Regions from separate parts of the Homo sapiens genome. Here regions 2, 3, 4, 5, 6 and 7 are each linked to region 1. The links are contacts of gene promoters, found by promoter capture Hi-C in blood cells and fetal thymus (Javierre and others, 2016). All regions are on one chromosome and are shown on one strand. The core of a region is centred on a gene start or on the middle of the fragment in contact, and the rest is flanking DNA. Distances in the headings are between cores, read along the strand shown. Region 1 holds the start of C5orf67 (chromosome 5 putative open reading frame 67). Region 2 has its middle 16 kb from the start of ANKRD55. Region 3 has its middle 34 kb from the start of ANKRD55. Region 4 has its middle 53 kb from the start of ANKRD55. Region 5 overlaps LOC105378977 (a long non-coding RNA gene). Region 6 overlaps LOC105378977 (a long non-coding RNA gene). Region 7 overlaps LOC105378977 (a long non-coding RNA gene).

Region 1 (3,571 bases), core at 536-3,035:
CCAGCACCTCCTCAGCAGGTAGCTTCCTGAAGCCCAGTACACTCTCACTCCCAGGCCTGCTTCCTCTCCACGCCTTTCCCGCTCCTCCCTGCATCTCAAATTGGTTCTTAGAACCCCTGCCACATCCAAGGAACTACTTGTGAAATACCTTTGTGATTACAGTTTATATGTTTAATTAGAAGCTGGGAATTAAGCTTCCAAACACCACAAAATGAAAGCTTGAGATTCTTCCAACAAACCCCAGCTTTCCACGAACATGGGCTGACTCATCCGTCTCCTGCTCTCCCCTGTCGCCCCAGCCCTGTCTTTCATGCTGAAGTCATTCACTTTCTTCACCTGGATTTGGAAAACTGCTGATGTCTCGTTTAGCTTCATTCCTAAGTTGTCTTTCAAAAGCAGGGACATGCAAAGTGGCTGCCTGTGGCAGAGGCAGCAGGAGAGGGGCACACTTGTTGAGTCTGAGAACTTCACAAAGACTGTTAATTAATTGCTCATTTCGACAAATGAGAACAGATTTCAAATGCATAGTTGAACGTGGAGCAGGAAGAACATCTTGCTCTTGTGACTTGGTTTTAAACGTTGCATCTAGAAGATGGGGTGATACTGAAAGATGTCACTTATTTCCTTTTGTGAATTGAGATAAAATGGTTCTAATTCTTTCACTGCTTTCTGGCTTTAGGGCCCTGCGAAAGAATGTTTATTCTTTTGCTCTTGGTGGGAATTGGATGTCTGTCGATTTAGCATATGTTTAAAATATTTTAGCTTTGGAAAACTGCCCTGATAGCCTTCTCCCTCTAGTCAAAATTAATCTCATCTTCCCGCAGCTCTCACAGCCAGTGATTCATGGCTCTAATACAGCCCTTCTCATATTCTTCTTTATTCTATAAAGACTTACTTTTCTATAAAGACTTTTATTTCTGTTTGTCTCTTACATCAAATTGAAAGTTCTGTGTGGAGAAGAACTCTGTCTTACACATCTTTGTGATTACCTGAGTCTAGTCTGGTACATTATATTTGGCAGCATTCAGTACGTATTACATTGAATCTGGAAGATCACACAGAGAGGGGGATTCTGAGGGGTGGCAACAACCACTTTTGTAGCAGACGCTGTTGGTGTCCAACCCATGTCCCCTTGGCCACCCCAGAGTTTGGCTGTAGTCACATGCTGTGTAGACAGACAACCTCCTGCTTCTCTCTGCCTGAGGGCATTCTTCAGCCATAGAAATGAGCTTGGAAGCGGCTGGGTATGGTGGCTCACACCTGTAATCCCAGCACTTTGGGAGGCCGAGGCAGGCGGATCACAAGGTCAGGAGTTCAAGACCAGCCTGGCCAATATAGTGAAACCCCATCTCTACTAAAAACACAACAAATTAGCTGGGTGTGGTGGCGGGCACCTGTTATCCCAGCTACTCAGGAGGCTGAGGCAGAAGAATCACTTGAACCCAGGAGGCAGAGGTTGCAGTGAGCCGAGATCGCACCATTGCACTCCAACGTGGGCAACAGTGCAAGACTCCATCTCAAAAAAAAAAAAAGACAAAAGGAAAAAAGAAAAAAGAAATGAGCTTGGAAGCACACAGGTTAGTCTGCAAGTGCCAGGGAATTATTGCCCAAGGAATGACCCTTGGCCAAAGAGGGAAAGTCCTGGCTGGATAAATAATCCAAAGTCCTTGCCCTCATTCCAAGGAATGTTCTGCAGTCTCCTAAGGGTTTCCTGCTAGAGGAAGCCCTGATTGCCCAAAGCTTCTTAACACATTCTTTATTAGCTTTCCTCTCTTCCCTGTTTCATATTCCCTGTGCTCCCCTGGGATCAACAGCCAAATGAACAACTTCACCTGAGCCCTTACCTCCAAGGAAGTGCCACAGGGGAACCCAAAGGCCCTTAATCATTAAAAAAAACTTTAGAGATGCTGGCTGAGCCATCAGTGAGAACATGGATGCATACACAGAACCTACATCTTGTCATCTCTGCTCTTCGAGGAATGGAGCTGGAGAGGCAGAGAAGCAATGAAGCCGAATTCTGTGAGTGGGACTTCTGCGCAGCGGGGGAGGGAATTTCTACTTCTGGCCAGGAAATAGAGCTGGTGCCTTGTAGAAAGGCTCGAGGTAATGCAGTCAAAGGGCAAGCTTAGAGCAGTATGTGAAGGAATCCACCAAGGATTAGAACCAGCCAAGGGTCAGACAAACCAAATGAGACCAGAAGAGGAAAGTGGTGTCTTGGCAGAAAGGGCTTCCAGACCCATAGTCACAGGAATCTTCAGGAGAGGGGTGAAGAAGAAGGCATGGATCGCCAGGCCCAGGAGAGTCTAAAGCTGGTTTGGTGGGGAAGAATTTGGCCACATCTGTGCAGGATCCTAGAGAGTGGGGCAGAGGAGCTGGGCATCTGCTGTCAATGAGGCCAATTAAGAACAGTCTCAGGCTTGGGTCTCAAGCCTCAGGGATCTAGAACTTATCTGGTTTTAGCTGCTCTATATTCATTTCTTAGGAAGAGAGAGAGAGAGAGTATGTGTGTGTGTGTCTGTGTCTGTGTATATGTGTGAAATTTCTCTCAACTGAAACACAGGGCAGAACACTAGATGAAACTAGTGCTGTACTTTTCTGCTTATCTGTCGACACAGTCTTAGTGCGCAAAGTCTTGGTCTTAGTGGCTGGGTGTGGCAGTTTCCCAGAGGTGGGGGGCAGTAATAAAGAGAGAGAAAGGGAGACCTGATAGAAGATGGAGACCAGATAGAAGGCATCTGCTACGTGCATAGGTGCCCCTTTCTGAACAAGCTGTTTTTTGGTTACGAGATCCATTCCTGAAATCGATTTTAAGATATTCTGTGTTGGGTGATGTCACAGAAGCACTACTGGTGCACGGATTTGAAAAATAGTGGCTCATCCCGCCTCAGGGTTTGACAGCTTGGTAACTTGCAGTGAGGTTTCTTTTAACAATGAAACCAAGTCCTTTGAAAGACAAAAAAAGAACAAAACATCCACTAATTTTTGCGTGCAGGAGTAAGACAACAGTATTGGGAGATCTCAGCTATAAATGTGCCAGCTCTGGGAACTTTGGTTAAGTCATTTCACCATTCGCCTGTTTCCTCACCTATAACCAAGGAGGCAGCCAAGCCATCCCTAGTATTTCCTGGAATTCTGAGATCCTAAGTCAGATTGTTGAGTCTGGAGAGGCTGGATTCAGTGATTGACTAGGAGGGGCCTGTTTGTGTGGCTGTGTTCTATATGGCAAAACTTTGGTTCAGCACTTTGGCCAAGTCGGCCTCCACAGAAATGAGGATGTAAGAGCCTTTCCAAAAATCATATTAATTGAAACTATGTGGAGTCTGACTTAACTTCCATCTATATGCCTCCTTTCCCTTCTTCTAAGTTGTTTTTTCCCTAGTATTCCCTCAAACAACCACCTTTGTTCAAGTCTAAATGAATGTCTTTGGTTTCAAGATAATTCTCCCTTTTCAAGCAATTTCTGAACACCCTGTCCTGCAGAGAGTGGCCCGGGGCGGGGGGAAGAGTGGAAGCTTGGCTTGAGGAAGGAGACTGAGGGGCCTGTGTAGGCGACATGTTTGACTTGATCTGC
Region 2 (3,571 bases), core at 522-3,021, 360 kb after region 1:
CAAGAGTCCTGGGTGGTTTGCTGGGCAAATAATTATTTCAGTTAAACGAGTGTTGATTGAGCATCTAACATGTGCAAAGAAGAATGAGAACTTGAGCCCACTTCTTGTGACACCAAGTTCACGATTCTTCCCACCATTCTATACCACCTGGGCTAAAGTGCCAAGGCCCCATTCCCACCGCCAAAATAACAGTGAATGCTTAGATATTGGGAACCCTGAGATTTGCAGGAAATATTATTTAAGTCTGTATGTTTTTCACAGCAGGTGCTGTCAATCAATTCCTCCAACCATTAAAAACTTCAGTGTGGCCCTAGGTGACCTGGATCCTAACTTCCATCAGAACAGTTGTCCATCAGAGCATCTGCACAGTAGTACTTGCCCTCAGCAGCTAGGGAGCTAAAGCCAGATTACATTGGATCAAGCAGAGATTGGGTGGTCTGGAAAGGAAATAGCAAATGTAGCCTTTTTATTCCCAAAATCATGTCAAGAAACAAAGAATAAATCTGTTTGAAGAAACATCACATCATCACAGTTTTGTTTCATTTTTATTTTTTTAAGGCCTGAAGAAGGATATATGTGTAGGCTAAGGAAAAGTTTCTTGAGGAGGGAAAAAGATGAAGTTGCAAAAGAGATGGAATAACTTGGCCAGGCGCAGTGGCTCATGCCTATAATCCCATCACTTTGGGAGGCCAAGGCGGGTGGATCACCTGAGGTCAGGAGTTCGAGACCAGCCTGACCAATGTGGCATGGTGAAACCCCACCTCTACTAAATACAAAAATTAGCCAGGTGTGGTGGTGAGTGCCTGTAATCCCAGCTACTCAGGAGGCTGAGGCAGGAGAATTGCTTGAATCCGGGAGGCGCACGTTGCAGTGAGCCAAGATCACGCCACTGCACTCCAGCCTGGGCAACAGAACAAGACTTCATCTCAATAAAAACAAACGACAACAACAAAGAGATAGAATAACTGATGGAAATCTTAAAGGTAAATGTCTATCAGAATTACGATGTAAGGCATTGCCCTAAGAACTTGACATATTTAAGTCAATTTACTTCACTCAAAAACTTTATGAAGAAGGCACTAAGATATTCTCATCTTACAGATGAGGGAAATAAGGCGTAACTGAGATAGCATCACGTTATAAAACTGGGATTAGAATTTAGCCAGTCAAGCTCCAACGCCCATGTGCTTAGTGGACTGTAGGTTGTAAATCTACCTCTCTGGGGAAAGTTTTTGTGTCAAAGGAGGCACACTAATTGCAGCCTAGCATTCTCAAAAAAGAAAAGACACTTCTTTCTTTTCACCAGAAGGCATTGAAGAGGAGTCAGGGGAGGAAACAGAGAAATGTAGAGGAATAGAAAAGAACAGTTAAAGAAGAATGAAAGATCTATTGGTGTTGGAATGGCTAGGCTGATTGTTAATGTCCCTTACGTTCAGAATAGTAAACCCATGTTTTCAGCACAAATGCACCAGAGGGAAATTACCCCCCTACTTGCTACGGGAGCTGCCATCTTCCAATTAATCTACCAGCTACGATTATTTAGAAAAATGTATGAAAGCTGTAACTGGGTCACAGGCTCATTTTATATTACCTATATACGTACATTGTGTTCCTCCCCATGCTAATTTTGGCATATTCATTATAGTACAAACTTTGGAGAGACAATAATATCTTGGGATCCATCCTTAAACTGTACAGCTTGGAGTCCTGCTTCTTGTGATGGAGATCAAAACGGATGGAGCAATGAACTCCCAAAACTCTGAAATTACACTCAGTGGTTTCCTTGGCAAGGTGAAAGAGCCAAGCATTGACCAATCATGGGATAATGACAGAATATGGTCATACCTCATGTAGCATCCAGTTTGAGAGACCCCAATTTACCATTTCTTGAGAAAAACCCAATTACAACATTTTTTGATAAGAAAGTTCTCTAGACAGCTCTAGACAGTGCTAGTGAGAGGTAAAGCAGGCTAGGCTTCTGGGTCGGGTGGGGACTTGGAGAATTTTTCTGTCTAGCTAAAGGATTGTAAATGCACCAATCAGCACTCTGTGTCTACCTAAAGGCTTGTAAACGCACCAATCAGCACTCTGTCAAAAGAGACCAATCAGCACTCTGTCAAACGGACCAATCAGCACTCTGTAAAATGGACCAATCAGCTCTCTGTAAAATGGACCAATCAGCAGGATGTGGGTGGGGCCAAATAAGGGAATAAAGCAGGTCACCTGATCCAGCAGCTGCAATGCTGTTGGGTTCGCTTCCAAGGTGTGGCAGTCTTGTTCTTTGTTTCTTCCCAGTAAATCTTGCTGCTGTTCACACTTTGGGTCCACACTGGCTTTTCGGGCTGTAACACTCACCTGGAAGGTCTGCAGCTTCACTCATGAAGCCAGTGAGACCACAAACCCAGCGGGAGGAATGAATCTGTAACACTCACTGCGTAGGTCTGTGGCTTCACTCCTGAAGTCAGCGAGACCACAAAGCCGCCAGAAGGAAGAAACTCTGGACACGTCTGAACATCTGAAGGAACAAACTCTGGACACAACATCTTTAAGACCTTTAACACTCACCATGAGGGTCCGCGGCTTCATTCTTGAAGTCAGCGAGACCAAGAACCCAGAAGGAACCAATTCTGGACCCACTAGCACACCACGGCCTTGTTACCCCAGTTTATCCTCACAACAACCTTTCAGAATGGGTATCATGATTATCTCCAGTATACATACTGGAGAAATACTTAGATATGTTCTGTAATTTTTCTGTGTGTGTAGAACTAGAATGGGGCAGAATTCTGAGGAAGCTCTGACATGTATGGCCCTGATAACATCTAGCCATTAGGTGACTCCATTTTTACCTGAAAATAGACACGGGGATTCAAGGTGGTCAGAGTTGCCAGATATTAACCAGTGTCCACCTCTGGCTAACCTCTGTTAGAGATTGATTTTCTGAGGCTCTTTGGGAGCTTAGTTTATATTTATGAGTTTTTACTGTTCAGTAGTGAACCTCCATGGAGAAGCCCTTAAGTGTATTTTTTTTTTATTTAGTTATTGAGAAATATTCTAGCCCCTTGCTGCACAAAAGATGGACCAACTACCAACATAATCTGGTAACTTGCCAGATATCCAGAATCTCTGCCCCTACCCTGGTCTACTAAATCAGAAAGTTCATCTTCGGTTGATCCCCCAGATCACGTTTGTGCCCATTGAAATTTAAGAAGCATTGCTTTACCCTGCTCGTGATCAAAGTGGGGCTCACATATACCAAGAGTGTCACATTGTAAGTTGCTTTTCTTGCAATTGGGAGGGATTGGCGTTGCTGCAGCAACACAATCCTCCTGGACGTTTTTGGCTGGTAGGGGTACAGTCTGGTCACAAAACAGAACAACTCTACAGAGTGAGACTTTTGCCCCATTAGCAACCATTTTAAGCAAACAGCCACAGACTTCTCTTCCATTAACCTTCTTGGTAACCTCACATTTTGTTTTCCTAACTCTACAAGAAACTTTGGAGAGGCAAGTTCAGTTAGATTCCTTGCAAAGACTTCCTCTCAGAAAAATTAATGCAAAGAATAATGTTA
Region 3 (3,571 bases), core at 791-3,290, 340 kb after region 1:
CAAACCACCATGGCACGTGTGTACCTATGTAACAAACCTGCACATTCTACACATGTACCCCAGAACTTACAGTAAAAAAAAATAAACTTTAAAAAGGATATGAACTCTTTGTTTTAATAAAATGTATATTATAATCAGGCACAGTGGCCCACACCTATAACCTTAGCTCTTTGGGAGGCTGAGGCAGGCAAATCACTTGAGCTCAGGAGTTTGAGACCAGCCTGGACAACACGGCAAAACCCCATCTCTAAAAAGAACAATTACACAAATTAGCCAAGTGTGATGGGTGTGGTGGTGCATGCCTGTAGTCCCAGCTACATGGAAGGCTGAGGTGCAAGGGTCATTTGAGCCCAGGAGGTCGAGGCTGCAGTTAGCCGAGATCACACCACTGCACTCCAGCCTGGGCAACAACGAGACCCTGTCTCAAAAAATTAAATAAAATGTATATTACAGTCAGACAGGCTACTCTGTGAATTCTGAATGGGCCACTGTCTCTAATCAGAAAGCTTTGTAGATATTCTTGGCACATGGCAATGGCATCCTCAATCAGTGTCTATGTGGCTTTACTAAAAATTAACCAAAGATCGGTTTTATTTCTTAATACTAGACAAGACTGATCAAGCAATAAGAAGTTGTGGTGTACTTGCCATGTTCAGGGAGTATATAAGGCAATGAATGCAAGGGTTGCAGCAAAGAAACATGGGACACAGTCCCTGAATATAAGAAGCTATCTACCTAGGAAGATGAGGCCCAATCCGATACAAGCAATAAAGAAGTATCAAGTAATCTCTTTACTGATAATACTGATCAGGATAGTAATAGTGGCAGTGTATTGAGTGTTTACTCTGTTCCAACGACTGTGCTAAATGCTTTATATAAATCATGTTGTTGAATCCTCAAAACAACTTTATTAAGTAGGTACTATAATTATTGCCACTTTAGGGGTAAGGAAACCAACCCACATAAAGTTTAAATCATTTGCCAGGATTTTATTCCAGGCTGTCCGACACCAAAGACCATGCCTTTAAATATCCAGCAATCTGTAATGCCTCATAAGAGCAAAGGGAGTTCAAAGTGGGGAGATCAGCATGGGATGGATGAGACCTTCACGGAAGAGGGATCCTGGAGATGTAGATGTGGTTTGGGGTAAAGAGAGGATGGAGAAGACCTTCCAAGGAAGGAGGGAGAAGGAGAGGGAGAGCACACACAGGCTGAGAAGTGAAAATGCACAAAGCTCATTGGGGTCCCAAGAGTTACCCTGCTGCCACTGCACACCCTTTTTGCATGGATGTTAGTGGGTGGATAATGGTGGTCAGGTGACAGAAGCACATGGAAGTTAGGATTATGGAAGGGCCTCCTTGAAAAAAGCCTTCAGAAATGAGAGGGAAATAAAAACAATTGAAACCAAAACAAAGTTGATGAGTGGAACCTAATTAAACTAAAGAGCTTTTACACAGCAAAAGAAACTATCAACAGAGTAAATAGACAATCTAGGGAACGGGAGAAAATATTTGCAAACTATGCATCTGAAAAAAGTCTAATATCCAGACTCTATAAGGAAATTAAACTAATCAACAAGCAAAAACCAAATAACCTCATTAAAAAATGGGCAGAGGACCTAAACAGACACTTCTCAGAAGACATGCAAGTGGCCAACAAACATATGAAGAAATGCTCATCTGGCTGGGTGCGATGGCTCATGCCTGTCATCCCAGCACTTTGAGAGGCCTGGGCAGGAGGATCACTTGAGGTCAGGAGTTAGAGACCAGCCTAGTCAACATGGTGGAACCCCATCTCTACTAAAAATACAAAAAAAAAATTAGCAGGGTGTGGTGGCGCACTTGTAATCCCAGCTACTTGGGCGGCTAAGGTGGGAGAATCATTTGAACCCACCTACCTGGGAGGTGGAGGTTGCAGTGAGCTAAGATCGCGTCACTGCATTCCAGCTTGAGCAACAAAGCGAGACTCCATCTCAAAAAAAAAAAAAAGTTCATCATCACTAATCATCAGAGAAATGGAAATCAAAACCACCATGAGACACTATCTCACGCCATTCAGAATGACCATTACTAAAAAGTAAAAAAAAAAAAAAAAACAGATGCTGGCAAGGCTGCAGAGAAAACGGAATACCTATACACTGTTGGTGGGAATGTAAATTAGATCAGCCACTGTGGAAAGCAGTTTGGCGACTTCTCAGAGAATTTAAAACAGAGCTACCATTCGACCCAGAAATCCCATTATTGGGTATATGCCCAAAGGAAAATAAATTATTATACCAAAAAGACACATGCACTCATATGTTCATTGCCATGCTACTCACAATAGCAAAGCCATGGAATTGACTTAGGTGCCAATAAATGATGGACTGAATAAAGAAAATGTAGAACATATACACCATGGAATATTCCACAGACATAAACAAGAATGAATCATGTCCTTTGCAGCAACATGGATGGAGCTGGAGGCCATAATCCTAAGTGAGTTAATGCAGGAACAGAAAACCAAATGCTGCATGTTCTCACTTAAAAGTGGGAGCTAAATATTGAACATACATAGACATAAACATGGGAACAACAGACACTGCAGACTACTAGATGGGAGAGGGTGGGAGGGAATGAGGTGAAAAACTACCTATTGGGTACTATGCTCATGACCTGGGTGCAGTCCATTTATGTAATAAACCTGCATATGTACCCCTGTATCTAAAATAAAAGTTGAAATTTTTAAAAAATCTTTATAAATCTAGATAAGAAACTGTTAACTTTTCACCATTTAACAAAAGTAAATGTCTTACAAGAAAAATGTTTTAAAGGGATAATCTATTGTCTAGAAGAAAGATGACAAAATTATATTTAAAAAGAGAAAGAAAGGGCCGGGTGTGGTGGCTCACGCCTGTAATCCCAGCACTTTGGGACACAGAGGCAGGAGGATCACTTAAGGCCAGGAGCTCGAGACAAGCCTGGCCAACATGGCTTTCTACTAAAAATACAAAAACTCAACAGGCGTGGCGGTGGCACCTGTGGTCCCAGCTACTAGGGAGGCTGAGGCAGGAGAATCACTTGAACCCAGGAGGCAGAGGTTGCAGTGAGCCGAGATCATGCCACTGCACTCCAGCCTGGGCAACAGAGAGAGATTCTGTCTTGGAAAAAAAAAAAAAAGAATGAATGAATGAATGAATGAATGAAATTGGAGATGAAGAAGGCAACATTGAAGCCAGGACAAACAATAAGTAAATTACTTCAACAATTATCCATGTGAAGTGACAAAGGTATGTACTTTGAGAAGAGGGCAGGAAATTCCAACCAGAGATGAGGTGTCACCAGTGGGATCTGGCTAAATTCTAGCCCCAGACATTTTATATTATAATCCCAACAAGGAGGTATCAAACACTAACATATTTTACAACTTTGGTGTGGTCACCTAAAAATAATAACCATCTCTGACAAGTACTATACCAAGTCCTTTCCATATGCCTTTCATTCCCATAAAAAGTGAGCTTAGGAATTATCATCATGATTGATGTTACAGATGAGGAAACTGAGATTCAGAGAACATCTGACTTACTAAAAGC
Region 4 (3,571 bases), core at 396-2,895, 320 kb after region 1:
GCAATGGCTTGTTCTCAGCTCACTGCAACCTCCGCCTCCCAGGTTCAAGTGATTCTCCTGCCTCAGCCTCCCAAGTAGCTGAGATTACAAGCACGTGCCACCACACCCAGCTAATTTTTGTATTTTTAGTAGAGACGGGGTTTCACCATGTTGGCCAGGCTGGTCTTGAACTCCTGACCTCAAGTGATCCACCTGCCTCGGCCTCCCAAAGTGCTGGGATTACAAGCATGAGCCACCACGTCTGGCCCGGTTTTTTTAATCTGTTGGGAGACTGCCTTTCCCTGGCGCTGGCTACGACCAATTATTATTTTAGAGAGGCAGTTTAACAACCTCCAACCATCACCTGATGGTCGCCTGACATTCCTAGTGGGAGGCAGGGGGCCCTTTCCTGCCCTGCTCATATCTGACTAGCTACCTACTGTAACAGGATGACCAAACTGTTCAAAACAGAAGCCACTGGAAACTGACTCTAGGTAGAAATAAGGAGTTCCCTTTAAAAGTCATGGCATTCATCTGGGTGCAGTGGTGTGTCACACCTGTAATCCCAGCACTTTGGGAGGATTGTTTGAGGCCAAGAGTTCAAGACCAGCCTAGGCAACATAGTGAGACTCCATCTCTACAAAAAAAGAAAAAAAATAGCCAGGCATGGTGGCACACACCTGTAGTCCTAGTTACTCAGAAGGCTGAGGCAGGAGGATTATTTGAGCCCAGAGGTTGGAGGCTGCAGTGAGTTGTGACACTCCAGCCTGGGTGACAGAGCAAGACTCTAACTCAAAAAGAAACAAAACCTGGAACTCATACCTCTGCCCAATAGACACATCCAGAACATGCTGTTTACTTCATGCCTCCTGGGAGATTCCCCTTCCCCAACCCTCAGTGAGCCAGATTGAATTGACCACATTCAGCTGAAGAAACATGATCACACATGATGACTTTCTCAAAAGTCTGGAAAGACTTAAAAAATAAAGTAAAATAAACCCAAGCCTCCCATCGCAAATGTTGGCTCCAAATAGAAGATTTTATTGTAAACCTTCCAGACATTTAGACTCCACTGTTATTTTTGAAAAGACATTCCAATAACAGATGCCCCTTCAGTTGGGGTATGGTTTGATAGAAAGCAGCAGGCACAATTTAAAAAAATAAAATAGCACTCTTGGGATGTCAAAATAAATTAGCTGTGATGCTGAAATTATTTCCTGTTAGGTTTAATGAAGTTAACAAGATAAGTAAATATGAAAAACAGCATTAGCAACCAGGGGCTAATCTCCTCCCAAACATGGAGCACTTCCAGACATTGATAACAATGTATGTGGAATTTCTTTCATTTATTTTTATATATCACAATGCCTTCATTCCATGTCTATTTTTCAAAATCTTTGAGATTTCTTTTGAGCTGAACTTATTTGTAATTCTCTTTTGAAACATAGTTAGAAATCTGTGACTCAAGCATTTTGCTATTTTTCATGTTCTGTTTCTACATTGTTGTAGTACCTCCAACAAACAGATAAATGATAATTAAAGAAAAGGTTGAAGTTGTTATTTAAAAGGCATTTGGAGACTATATGGACTTTTCATTTAACCAAGTTTTCTTGGTCCCAATTAGCATAAATAATTAAGACTTGACAGCAAGTTAGAGACATGACCCCTTCCCGGAGGAACTTCAGATATAAAAATAAACCCCTCCAAAGATGGTTTTCTTACTGTTTCCAATCATTACTCCCTAGCTTATACATAAATTGCCTTAAAAAATGTAGGTAGGGCTGGGCACGGTGGCTCACGCCTGTAATCCCAGCACTCTGGGAGGCCAAGGCAGGTGGGTAACCTGAGGTCAGGAGTTCAAGACCAGCCTGGCCAACATGGCGAAACCCCATCTCTACTAAAAATAGAAAAATTAGCTGGGCATGGTGGCACATGCCTGTAGACCCAGCTACTTAGGAGACTGAGGTCGCTTGAACCCGGGAGGCAGATGTTGCAATGAGCTGAGATCACGCCACTGCACTCCAGCCTGGGTGACAGAAGGAGACTTCATCTCAAAAAAAAAAAATGTAGGTAGGCACACAGATCTTGAAGTCATCGGACACGTTTCTAGTCCCAACTCTTACCCTGTTATTCACTTATCTCTTCGGTCATCAGTTTCACCATCTGAAAAATGAGTGGGTAGTATCCTTGATAATAAATATTATTCATTGAATATTTAATAAGTTATAGGCCCTTTACTAAGGACTTCACATACATCATCTAATTGATGCTAACAATAACCTTTTAAGGTATTATCTCTATTTTACAAGTGTGAAACTGAGGCACAGAGAAGTTAAGTAACTTTCCAAAGGCCACTCGGCAAGCAAGTAACTAAGCCAGCATTCAAATACAGATTGACTCAAGTCCACAGGCCACACCTGCCTATAGCCACAATGCCTCCCACTGTGAGATACCACCTCTGGGATCCCTTTCAGATGAACTTCTCCAAGGTGTTATGATTCTTTTAGAGTACAGTTATTTGCAAAAAAAAAAAAAAAGAGAGAGAGAAAATACTTTGAGTGACAGGAGAACAATGGTTCCATGGATAGAAATATGAAACAGAGAGGGATAACAGGGAAAAAAAAATGCATTCTGGTTTGCAACTAGTGAATTTCCTAGTGCTGGCAGAGATGTCCAACAGGCACTTGGAAACTTCAACTAGAACAAGGGACAAAAGCCAGAGCTGAAGATAAAGAACTAAATCCCTTGCAAGGAGGTAATGACTGAAATTAAGCAACTGAAAGAGAATGCCAAGGGAGGAGCCCTGGAAAGAGGAAGGGTCCATCCTTGGGATCAACTGTCTGAGGATGCAGGAAACAGAGAAGGACATATAGGTGCTGAGTAGGAGAACCTCAAGGATGGCGCTTCTGAAGCAAAGTTAAGAAGAATCTGGGCCGGGCACGGTGGCTCGCGCCTGTAATCCCAGCACTTTGGGAGGTCGAGGCGGGCGGATCATGAGGTCAGCAGATCGAGACCGTCCTGGTTAACGCGGTGAAACCCTGTCCCTACTAAAAATACAAAAAATTAGCCGGGCGTGGTGGCGGGCGCCTGTAGTCCCAGCTACTCGGGAGGCTGAGGCAGGAGAATGGCGTGAACCCGGGAGGCGGAGCTTGCAGTGAGAGATTGCGCCACTGCACTCCAGCCTGGGAGACAGAGCAAGACTCCGTCTCAAAAAAAAAAAAAAAAGAAGAAGAAGAATCTGCAGAGGCGATGGCCCACAATGCCAAGTGCCACTCTCTCTGAAGTCAAGGAGATCAAGACCAGGTAAGAAGCCACCGGGATGGACCATTTGGAGTCACTAACAGTTCTCAATGGGCAGGTAGGTTGTGCTGGGGATGAAAGCCTGAATACGATGGGTTAAGAAGTCAGACTGGGAAGAACTGTTCTGGAGGCAGTAGGTGTCTGTAAACTGGGGCCCAGAGTGTTAAACCTGCCCAGGATCACAAGGTTAGTTAGTGACAGAGCCAGGACCATTATTTGGATATGTTAATCTTTTTTCCTTCATACCACACTCCTTGTAGATATGCAAAATTTTCTTTCAAGTTTCTTTCAA
Region 5 (3,571 bases), core at 479-2,978, 300 kb after region 1:
ATTTTTAAGAAATGATCTCCACTGGGCCTGAGTTCAACTCCATACTAAAGAAACCTGAAGCCTCTCCATTCAGTGTTCCCAGCAGTCTTCACTGATTCCTTCTGTTTTACTAATTAAAATCCATGTAACCCACGGTATAACTTTGCTGGGTATGGTTGATTGACACTCTCCATTCACTCCACCTCTTTCTATGTACTTTTCTGTACTGCAGTCTGGAAAGCTAAAATCTGCATTTCCCAGACTCTCTTGGATCTAGGGTTCTGGATGCACTTAGGCAAGACCTAAACCACAGCAGTAAGACAGCAGCTATCTCCCTGCTGCTACATCTGTGGACAAGCAGGTCATGAAAATGTGTCAGAGCAGTGGTGGCAGCTGGATTCCTGATTCTGTGATTTTATCATCAGCTTTGAAAGTATGAGGAGGCAGCTGTGGCTGCCATACTGGGACCAGGAAGCCAGGATCAGGAAGCTGCTGCTGGCCCTGGCACAGGCAGAGGCCACCTCAGCAGACAGCCACATCACTGCTAGAGAGGCAGCCAGGAACATTCCAGGTGGGAACTCCAGGATTCAAGGAGAGAAGTCACCACGGAAAAATTACCAATTTGCAGGACGATAAGTAGGCTTTCTTCCATGAGTACATTTCCTGGCCACAAAAAGACAATCATGGTTTTATCTTGGCTTTATATATAAGAATATGTAAGTAGAGTAGTTTGCTTCTGCTGAAGTTCTGACCATATGCCTCACCCTCAGGTCATCATCAGATGCCAGTTGTATATGTTTAGGGATGTCACATAACATCTCTGGGCTTCAGTTTCTTAATCTGCCAAATAACAGCATATGATGAGATGACTTTTCCAAAGACATGTTCTGTTCTAAAATCCTGTGAGCTATTAGTGTAATTAAAAACAGATATCTGCTACATCCTTTTTTGCCCTGAAGGACTGAGCCAGCCACAGATTCATTTCAGTGCTATTAGTGACTGTTATTGCTGAACTGCAGGCCTCTCAAAATTCGTATGTTGAAGCCCCCACCCCCAGGGCCTCAGAATGTGACTGTATTTGGACACAGGGCCTTTACAGAGGTATTAAATTAAAATGAGGTAAATATGGTGGGCCTTAATCCAATACAACCGGTGTCCCCACAAGAAGAGGAGATTAGAAAACAGAGAGACGATCATGTGAAGGCAGAGGGAGAAGCCACCCATCCACAAGCCACGAGAGGAGACTCAGGAGAAACCAAACCTGCCAACACCTTGATCTCAGACTTCTAGCCTCCAGAGTCATGAGAAAATAAAGTCCTGTCTTTTAAGCTACCCAGTGTATAGTATTTTGTTAGGGCAGCCCCAGCAAACTAATACAGTGATATCAAAATAAAACTTTCCAGAAAGCTTTCTGACAGCAAGAGAAAAAAGGACTAAGAAATTTCGCCAGCCAAGATATTCACTATACAATTAATGACCAGGAATGTAGCTAAATGTCCACAGGTAGGAGGCAGAATATCTTACCAGAGAAAGTGGAGACAAATACTGGACAACATTTCCATTTAGTAATAGAAAATGTTGTTAGCTCTATAGAGTATATGTAAAAGGTCCCCTGATGTTAAAGAATTGTTGGGATATCAGAAATAATGGCACAGTCAAAAAATCTAGAGCTCAGAGAATATGTACATTTTCTGCGAGAAAAATGACAATCACTTTATTGGCTATAATTTGAGATGTAGTCTAAGTTACTCTGGTCACTGCTTCCCAAATGTGTTGAGTTCCTCCCTGGGCTTTCCACTGGGTAAGTGAATGACCAGCTCATTGTTTTTGCCCTCTTTAAACATTGCTACCAGCCACTCTCCTCTCAGAGCCTCCCAAGTCTGACAAATATGAGCACCAAGAGGAAAGGAGAAGGGTCTGATTTCTGTTCATGCTATGACCCACTTGGTTCTCTGCATCTGCAGTCCAGCAGTTAGTTCCACACCTGGGACCATTTGGATTCCACTTGCAGGCCTGGCACTGCCTCCCCTCATAAGCTCATTTTAAGCCCAGGTGGATGTAACTTTGTTGATTCAGCATGAAATAAGCTTTGGCCCACCTGGCTTAGATACTGAGCTTCTGAGAGTACAATGACCTGCAAAAGGGTGCCCACACATACATAGTGGTATGCTGATTTCCAGGTCCATTCCACTATCCTAGGGATTCTCAGCTTTTTTCATATTGTGAGACATCACTGTGGGGCAGGAATGACCTAAAGGTTCCAGCCATCTAGGACCTGCCTGTGTTCCCCAAGGGTTGAGAGGATCAATTACTTGGACACGCCTGTTACCCAGTCCTACGGAAGCACACAAGCTGGGAGCTATGATGCTCTACTCCACTGCAACCATTAATGGCACTAAGTAGAACTAAGACTATACCTTATTGTCTACACCAGGGGTCTCCATCTCCCAGGCCTTGGACCAGTATTGGAACCAGGCTGCACAGTAGGAGGTGAGCAGTGGGGGAGTGAGCATTACCACTGAGCTCTGCCTCTTGTCAGATCAGCTGCAGCATTCAATTCTCATAGGAGCGCAAACCCTACTGTGAACTACGCATGCGAGAGATCTAGGTTGTGTGCTCCTTATGAGAATCTAACTAATGCCTGATGATCTGAGGTGGAAGAGTTTCATCCCAAAACCATTCCTTGCCCACCCTTTCCATGGAAACATTATCTTCCATGAAACTGGTCCCTGGTGCCAAAAAGGTTGGGGACCACTGGTCTACACTATAGTAGTACTTGAGGGTGACCATGAGATGCCTACTAAGAACTTAGAAAGAGTGAAATGATATTGCTTTCTACACATTAAACAGCGAGAGCAGTTTATATTAGGCTGTAATAAGAATATACAAATCACTTTAAAAAGACAGCATGTTACCCGGGAAGCACTGTTGATTATAACTTGATTAAAAGCATAGAAAATGTAAAGATAGCATGAACCATCATCATCAAGATCTAGAAAATGGGAGGGTGAATATTGGCTGAGACTGTTCAGGTGTTCAGGGACATGGAGCTTTAGCTGCTAGGCTCCAATTTCTCCCTTTTTCCAGACCATCCTGATGGCAGGATGGATACATCCAGCCATCTCATCCTGATGCTATTATACACATATATCTAAATCTCCTCATCTTGATTCCATGCACACAAAGCATCCTTCTCATTTTAGTTTTGCCTTCCATGTAAGTCTGCCTTGGGAAGGGGAGTGAGGGAATGTACTACTTGCAGGGACTTTCAAGAGTTCTGGTCCCCAAGATGGGGATGTCTCCTGATAAATCAGAGAGATGACTTCCGATTACAACTTGGGTTACCATGAAGATTTTTACAGGGAGAAAATTTTCTGGAACAGGCCAAGAGGAGCTTTCCTGTCCATGTGACGGCTATAGATTTCATGCAGATTAATTGTTTGACATTCTTAAATCTCATGCAAACTAATGTTTATTTTTATTGGCATGGATAACTTACCACCTGATCACCAGCCACTGCCAATGATGAGAATCTGAGTATTTGAAGAAGTGAGCGGACCCTCACATGATGGAACTTAATGAGGGCCTATAA
Region 6 (3,571 bases), core at 296-2,795, 270 kb after region 1:
TTGGATTTTGGGGTCAGATTTTCTCCTTGCTGTTCTCATGATAGTGAGTGAATTCTCATGACACCTGGTTGTTTAAAAGTGTGTAACACCTCCCCCTTGTCTTCTCTTTCTCCCGCTCCAGCCATGTAAGATGTGCCTCCTTCCCCTTTGCCTTCTGCCATAACTGTATGTTTTCTGAGGCCTCCTCAGCCATGTTTCCTGTACAGCCTGCAGAACCATGAGCCAATTAAACCTCTTTTCTTTATAAATTATCCAGTCTCAGGTAGTTCTTTATAGCAATCCAAGAACAGACTAATACAAAGTTCTGAATAAATTAAAGATCAAATGTGAAAAATAGGACTTAAAGACAGTGTATACATTTAATAGGAAAATCTTCATGAATTGAAGGTAGGGAATGATTTCTTAGACAAGACAAAAAAAGTATGACTTATAAAAAACAGGTTTGGTAAATCTTTAAGCTTTTGATAAAACTTTAATTGAAATTTTTGATAAAAATTTAATTAAAATGTAGAGCTTCTCTCCCTCAAAATACATCATTTTTAAAGGACAATTTACAGACTTACAGAAAATATTTGAACCATAAGTGACAGACTGAGGATTAGTATTCACAAATGTAAAGGACCACCGAAGTTGTAACAAACATGGGTGGAGACTATGAACAGGAAACTCACTGAAGTGGAAATCTAAATGACCAACAATCATACAAAAATATTATCGGCTTCACATGTAATAAGGGAAATGTGAGTAAAATAATAATGAAATACTACTTTACACACTTTGGATTGGCAAAGACTTTAAAGTCCAACAGTATCAACAATTGGCCAAGATGTGGGAAATGGAAAGGAGCACACACTGCTTTGGTGAGTGTAAATTAACACACTCATGACTGGGAGTGGTGACTCACACCTTTAATCCCAACACTTTGAGAGGATGAGGTGGGAGGATTGCTTGAATTCAGGAGTTTGAGACCAGCCTGGGCAATGTGGTGAGACCCCTATCTCTACAAAAAATACAAAAATTAGCCAGGTGTGGTGGTGTGCACCTGTGGTCCCAGCTACTGGGGAGGCTGAGGTGGGAGGATCGTTGAGCTCAGTAGGTCAAGTTTGCAGGAAGCCATGATCATGCCACTGCACTCCAGCCTGGGTGACAGAGTGAGACCATGTCTCGAAAAATAAAATAAAGTAAAATAAAATATTAACATACTTGCTAAATATCTTTTTTAAATTTATTTTGCACTCTTTTTAGCTCATTTTATTTTATTTTTTAAATTTTTTTTTTATTTCAATAGGTTTTTAGGAAGCAGGTCATGTTTGGTTACATGAGTAAGTTCTTTAGCAGCAATTTCTTAGATTTTTGTGCACCCATCACCCGAGCTGTGTACACTGTACCCAGTGTGTAGTCTTTTATCTCTCATGCCCCTCCCACCCTTTCCCTCAAGTCCCTAAAGTCCAGTGTATCATTCTTATGCCTTAGAATCCTCATAACTTAGCTCCCACTTATGAGTGAGAACATATGATGTTCGGTTTTCCATTCCTGAGTTACTTCACTTAAAACAGTAGTCTCCAATTCCATCCAGGTTGCTGTGAATGCCATTATTTTGTTCCTTTTTATGGCTGAGTGGTATTCCATGGTATATATCTACCACATTTTCTTTATCCACTTGTTAATTGACGGGCAATTAGGCTGGCTCCATATTTTTGCAATTGCAAGTAACACACTCACTAAATATTTAAGTAAAGTGGAAACTGCACATGCCCTGTGACTCATAAGTTTAAATCCGTGGAAAATTACTGTTCAATGTAATGCAGGACTGTGTTAGCTCCTGTGGCCGCCATAACAAATTACCACAAGTTTGTTTGGCTTAAAACAACAACAATTTATTCTCTTAGAGCTCAGGGGGCCAGATGCCTGAAATGCAGGTGAAGCAGGGTTGAGCTCCCTCCAAAAGCCCTAGAGGAGAATGCATTCCTTGTCTCTTTCACTTCTGGTGTCTATTGGCTTTCCTTGGCTTATGGCTGCATCTCTGCTCTGTGCTCACATTGCCTTCTCTTCTGTATGTGTGGTATTGAACTTCCCTCTGCCTCTCTTTCTCACATGTGATTGTATTTAGAGCCCACCCAGATAATTCAGACTAAGCTCCTCCTCTTAAGATATTTAACTTAATAACATCTTTCACCATACAAGGTGATATTCACAGATTTTAGGCATTAGACATGAACATATCTTTGAGGCCATCATTCAGTTCACTACAGGGACATACACAAGGATATTTATTTTTTAAATTCTATTAACAGCAAAAAACTAGAAACAGCACAAATGCCCCACCCACAAGATAATGCATAATGTATAATGTAATAAGAATATTATATAGCAGTATAGAGTCAATTTCATCTTCATCTATATCAGCACACATAGTTATCAAACACTTGTCATAAAGCAAGTTGCAGAATGACATATACAATATTATATCATTTATTTAATTTTTAAACAGGAATACATATATTTATTAGAAGTACGCAACATGAGCTAAATAGATATATACAAATATATGACAGTGTTGGAAACTGGGGAGCACCCATGGCATAGAAGATGGGAAGTAGAGCAAAGATGGTTCCATTAAAAGAGAAGCTTCTTTTATAATAATACACAAAAGACAAATTCCAAAATGTGAACAGTCCTTAATCTTGGGTTATAGGCACTGAAGTGTTTGTAATTCTATGCACATTTTAAATGATTTTTTAAATATTTTATAATTTTGTTTTTTATATTTAAAGATAGAAAATATTTTATGGTTATTCAGAAAACAGTATGAAGGATAAATTAGAATAGGCAGGAAATAGAGGGAAGGAAACCATTTAGAGACTACTACAAATAAGAAATAGAAAAGATGTATGAAGATTGGACCTAAGAAAGTGACCATGAAAACAGTGAGAAAAGGGTGATTATGAACAAAATTTACAAGGTAGACTCTTTAGGGCCTGTCTACTGAGTCAATGGGCACCAGGAGCGAGAGCGAGAAGGAAGATTCAAGGTGATGCCAAATTACTGACCTAAGAAACAGGTTGAATGGTGGCAGTGCAGTCACAGACAACTACTAATCTGCTTTCTGTCACAGTGAAATAGTTTCCATTTTCTAGCATTGTATATAAATGAAAGGCAGTAGGCACTATTTTTTTTTTTTGGTCTGGCTTCTTTCTCTCAGCACATTTATTTTAATATCCATCCCTGTTGTGTGTATAGCAACAGCTCATTCCTTTTTATTGCTGATTAGAATGGCAAGTTTCATTGACTGTCAGTCACCCTGGAGTGTCATTCCTGGCTGAGCCTCTCCCTGGCATGTGGACACTCAAGATTCATTCCCCCATCATCTGCCCACCTCCCTCCCACATCTGAATCTGCAGCTGTTTGCCTTCCCCAAATCCTCTTGTCACTGTTTGACGAGCAGTTACTGTTAGAGTGATTTCCTGGTGGGTTGCAAAATGTTACAATGTAACCAAGTATTAAATGAGCAAAATACTCTCCAAGGAATTGGAGGAGGTTGTCTTCAAAGTTGAATCTCAAAAATTCTGAT
Region 7 (3,571 bases), core at 486-2,985, 260 kb after region 1:
ATAACAATCTGAGGAGGAAGATATTTTGCTCCTTTCTAATTGCGTGACCTTGAGCAAGTTCCTTCAGCCCTCAGTGACTCGGCTTCCACACCTATAAAATGCGGACAATAGTACTACCCATATTTTGGTTTGTTGGAAAGATAAAATGAGATAATATATGTAAAATCCATAGATCAATGTCTGGTACAAAGTAGAAGCTCAATGATAGACATGTTGGCATTATCATTGCTGCTATTTTTTTATAATTGTTATTTTATAGATCTGAAAGCTAAGTCTCAGAGCACTCAAGGATCTTGCTGAAGGTTGCACAGCTAATAAGTGACAGATCCATAATTCCACTCCAGATCCATCTGATACCAAAGTTGATGCTTTTAAATCACCCATCCCTTTATCCTGTCTCCCAGCCATCTATACACAGGCACCATGTGATTACAAACACAGCACTGTAAATACTCCTCACTTACTCAAACGAAGAGTCCTTTCTTATTAATGAAGAGCTAGCCCATTTACCCTTTCTGTCTGTGGGTGAGCAGCTTAGATCACTCCCTCGGGGGAGCAATGACTGAGCCATCCTAACCCTCCTTTGTCTCACTTAACAGCCTTCCTTCTCCTCACTGTACCTTCTCAATGTTGATAAATCAAAGAAATGTCAACAAAATGAAAAGACTAAATAAACATTTTCTGTAAGGGTCATATGAGAGGGGAATTTTCTTTTTCATCAAATATTTGATAACATCTTGGACTTTTTGATGTTCCTTTCTCATACTTGGGACTGAATGAAAGTGTATGAGTCATAGACATGACCAAGGGAGGAAAAGCAAATGAGTCACTTGCCCGTTTGGACCTTCCGGCCTGGATGCTCCCTGGGATCAGCATCCCCAGAGGGCTGGTCTGGCCCATCCCACCTGCTGCAGCTGCCGGCTGAATGGGAAAGGGATTTCCTCAGGAGACACTGGGACTCCTGGAAAACAAGTGAGTCAGGAAAAGTGAAAAACATCAGAGCCTCAAGGAGTTGCCCTGTAACTCTTCCAAAAACCATTTTCTGCTATCAGTTTAGAGGTTTCTCATCCACATTTCGTCACTTCCCACTCCTGGATGTACTCCTGCTATAAGCTAATCACTCCTTAAATGCAGACACACACTTCAAAGAGTTGCCATCCATCGTCCTCTCCTCCCCATTAATGCAAGCTACAAGTGCTTGGACTCATGCATCCTTCGACAGATAAATCTCTGTTTCCTTTACTCTTTTTATTGCTCTATTGGAATCTGTCCAGCCTGTATCCTTCTGGTACCAAAGTGCCCCTGGTTGAAGCCCATACTGCTGGACTTAGTCTCTGGGAGTTGAAGGGAGAAGAATTGCAGTGTCCCTCAGCCCACTGTGCTACAGACCTTTTGAAACTTCCTCTCAGTCAGCTGGTCAGTGAATCACATTTAAAACCCAAGCTCACTGTCCACTTCTTTTCAATGGGTCTCTCTCTCAGAGTGTCATTTTTCTATGTTCACCCTGTTTTTCTCAGTGAGGACTTTGGTGCCTGGAAGCCATGAGTTTGAATTCCTACATCCTCTATTATTTTGCTTATAGACCTTGCCAAGTTTGTCGATCCATCTGAGACTCAGTTTCCCCATCTTGGCAAGGAGATAATTCCCATTTCTGGGTGTTGAGTGAGGATTTGGGGCTGGGTAAGACAGCCAAGAGCATTCAGGTGCTCTTCATTCGGCCTCTCTCAACCCGCATGATCCAATGACTTATTTTTCCCCAGGGGCAATCCCCTTACCCCTCACCACCAAAAGTGATTTTGTGACAATTTTCCACTCATTTTTTGTCACAGGAGGTCTCTCTATATTTTTTCCTCCATCTTCGCCAGGATTATAATTCTGCTGATAGCCAATTCTGAATCATCAGCAAATTATGTCAGCAGTTTATTCCCCTCATCCAAATACACAATAAAAATGTAAAACAAAAGTTCTTCTGTAGCTTGTTTCACAAATGTGCTTAAAACTTCTCTCCACAGAATTTATGTCACTTGTATGTATAGTTATGCACTGCATAATGACATTTTGGTCACTGACAGACCGTGACCCCATATAATATGACGGTGACCCCACAGATATGACGGTGACCCCATAAGATAATAACACTGTATTTTTACCTTTTCTATGTTTATATATGTTCAGATACACAAATGCCATTTGGGTACTGTTATGTTTCAATGACCAACAGTTTTCAGTACAGTAAAATGCTGTGCAGGTTTGTAGTCTAGGAGCAATACACAATACCATATAGCTTTGATATTGATGTATAGTAGGCTATACCATCTAGGTTTGTATAAGTACACTGTATGAGGTTCACACAACGACAAAATCGCCTAATGATGCATTTCTTAGAGCGTATCCCCATAGTTAAGCAAGGCATGACTACAAATCCAAACATGTAAACTGAAAAGTGCCAGAAAGGCTGCCATCATGAGCATCAGTAATTTTACCAGAAACATTAAAATACCCTCAGGTGATTTTTATTATTTTTTTTATTTATTTATTTATTTATTTATTTTTGAGATGGAGTCTCGCTCTGTCACCCAGGCTGGAGTGCAGTGGCACGATCTCGGCTCACTACAACCTCCACCTCCCGGGTTCGCGCCATTCTCCTGCCTCAGCCTCCCGAGTAGCTGGGACTACAGGCGCCCACCACCACCCCCAGCTAATTTTTTGTATTTTTAGTAGAGGTGGGGTTTCACCGTGTTAGCCAGGATGGTCTCAGATCTCCTGACCTCGTGATCCACCCGCCTCGACCTCCCAAAGTGCTGGGATTACAGGCATGAACCACTGTGCCCAGCCCTGATTTTTAAAATTAACACTTCAAGCTCTGTTCATTTTTTAAAAAAAGCAAACAAAAAAGATAAAGCTGTCAATATAATGTACTTTCATTTTATAAGTGTTAATTGCCCTTAGGTGTGTTCACATTAATTTTCTTTGCCTTTCTAGGGTGTTAAGAGATATTTTCTTTGCAAATAGTTTGTTAACTGTAAGTTTGATCCTCTATTTCCTTCTTTTTAGAATAGTGTACAAACTTCTAACACCAAATTCTTAGACATTTATAGACAGTATTCTCCAACAAAACAAAACAATTAAATCTGTCATTTAAATTCAGCCAACCATTCCTCCCTCCACCTTCAATATAACTTGATTTTCCAAATTTCAGTTGTGGAACAGTTTCAAATCCAACTAAAAGAACTACAAGGGAATTATATTGGGATGTATTTTTTATTTAAGTTGATTATTTTAATAGCCATGCCAAATCCACCTGACACTGTTCCCCAAATAGCCAGTGGTCAACAACAAAGTAGTAGAGTACGTCTCCATTAACTGTTCTGCTGTCAACCTAAGGATCATCCTGTTTGCTTAAGATCTTTGTCCATAAAAAGGATCTTAAAATTACAAGCCCAGCAAACATTATTAATCCTAGGAAAAAAAAAGAAAAATTTTCACATTCAACAGTATTTCTGATAGATTACCATTTTAGTTCAGAATATAAATTATGACTAAGCATACAATTAGGCTAAAAGTAAAACAT

The links. Contacts are between HindIII fragments. The CHiCAGO score rates a contact against its expected background, and 5 or more counts as called.
Region 2: a fragment that was not itself captured here is called in contact with the fragment with the promoter of C5orf67 in region 1 in 2 of 17 cell types (activated CD4 T cells and monocytes); the score reaches 6.8 in activated CD4 T cells.
Region 3: a contact is called between a fragment that was not itself captured here and the fragment with the promoter of C5orf67 in region 1, in 8 of 17 cell types (total B cells, neutrophils, M2 macrophages and 5 more). The highest score is 12.1, in total B cells.
Region 4: a fragment that was not itself captured here is called in contact with the fragment with the promoter of C5orf67 in region 1 in 6 of 17 cell types (naive B cells, total B cells, non-activated CD4 T cells and 3 more); the score reaches 8.6 in naive B cells.
Region 5: a contact is called between a fragment that was not itself captured here and the fragment with the promoter of C5orf67 in region 1, in 5 of 17 cell types (total B cells, naive B cells, activated CD4 T cells and 2 more). The highest score is 12.1, in total B cells.
Region 6: a fragment that was not itself captured here is called in contact with the fragment with the promoter of C5orf67 in region 1 in 7 of 17 cell types (total B cells, naive B cells, non-activated CD4 T cells and 4 more); the score reaches 12.9 in total B cells.
Region 7: a contact is called between a fragment that was not itself captured here and the fragment with the promoter of C5orf67 in region 1, in 3 of 17 cell types (total B cells, naive B cells and monocytes). The highest score is 8.5, in total B cells.

What each region holds. Positions count from the first base shown.
Region 1 is chr5:56,604,470-56,608,040 of GRCh38, reverse strand. C5orf67 (chromosome 5 putative open reading frame 67) reads left to right here and starts at 1,785. Exons shown (of 6, transcript NR_161255.1): 1 at 1,785-2,019. The HindIII fragment of the contact is 384 bases long and covers 1,743-2,126 here.
Region 2 is chr5:56,247,865-56,251,435 of GRCh38, reverse strand. No RefSeq gene overlaps it. Among named protein-coding and RNA genes, the nearest start is that of ANKRD55, 16 kb to the right of the region's middle. The HindIII fragment of the contact is 5,147 bases long and covers 1-3,571 here.
Region 3 is chr5:56,265,071-56,268,641 of GRCh38, reverse strand. No RefSeq gene overlaps it. Among named protein-coding and RNA genes, the nearest start is that of ANKRD55, 34 kb to the right of the region's middle. The HindIII fragment of the contact is 3,064 bases long and covers 509-3,571 here.
Region 4 is chr5:56,284,102-56,287,672 of GRCh38, reverse strand. No RefSeq gene overlaps it. Among named protein-coding and RNA genes, the nearest start is that of ANKRD55, 53 kb to the right of the region's middle. The HindIII fragment of the contact is 4,216 bases long and covers 1-3,571 here.
Region 5 is chr5:56,302,575-56,306,145 of GRCh38, reverse strand. All of the region lies in intron 2 of LOC105378977 (a long non-coding RNA gene), which reads right to left. Among named protein-coding and RNA genes, the nearest start is that of ANKRD55, 71 kb to the right of the region's middle. The HindIII fragment of the contact is 680 bases long and covers 1,389-2,068 here.
Region 6 is chr5:56,330,791-56,334,361 of GRCh38, reverse strand. The region is part of intron 2 of LOC105378977 (a long non-coding RNA gene); the gene reads right to left. Among named protein-coding and RNA genes, the nearest start is that of ANKRD55, 99 kb to the right of the region's middle. The HindIII fragment of the contact is 2,170 bases long and covers 461-2,630 here.
Region 7 is chr5:56,347,993-56,351,563 of GRCh38, reverse strand. LOC105378977 (a long non-coding RNA gene) reads right to left here. Exons shown (of 3, transcript XR_948342.3): 3 at 502-961. Among named protein-coding and RNA genes, the nearest start is that of ANKRD55, 120 kb to the right of the region's middle. RefSeq lists an enhancer at 149-1,348. The HindIII fragment of the contact is 4,812 bases long and covers 1-3,571 here.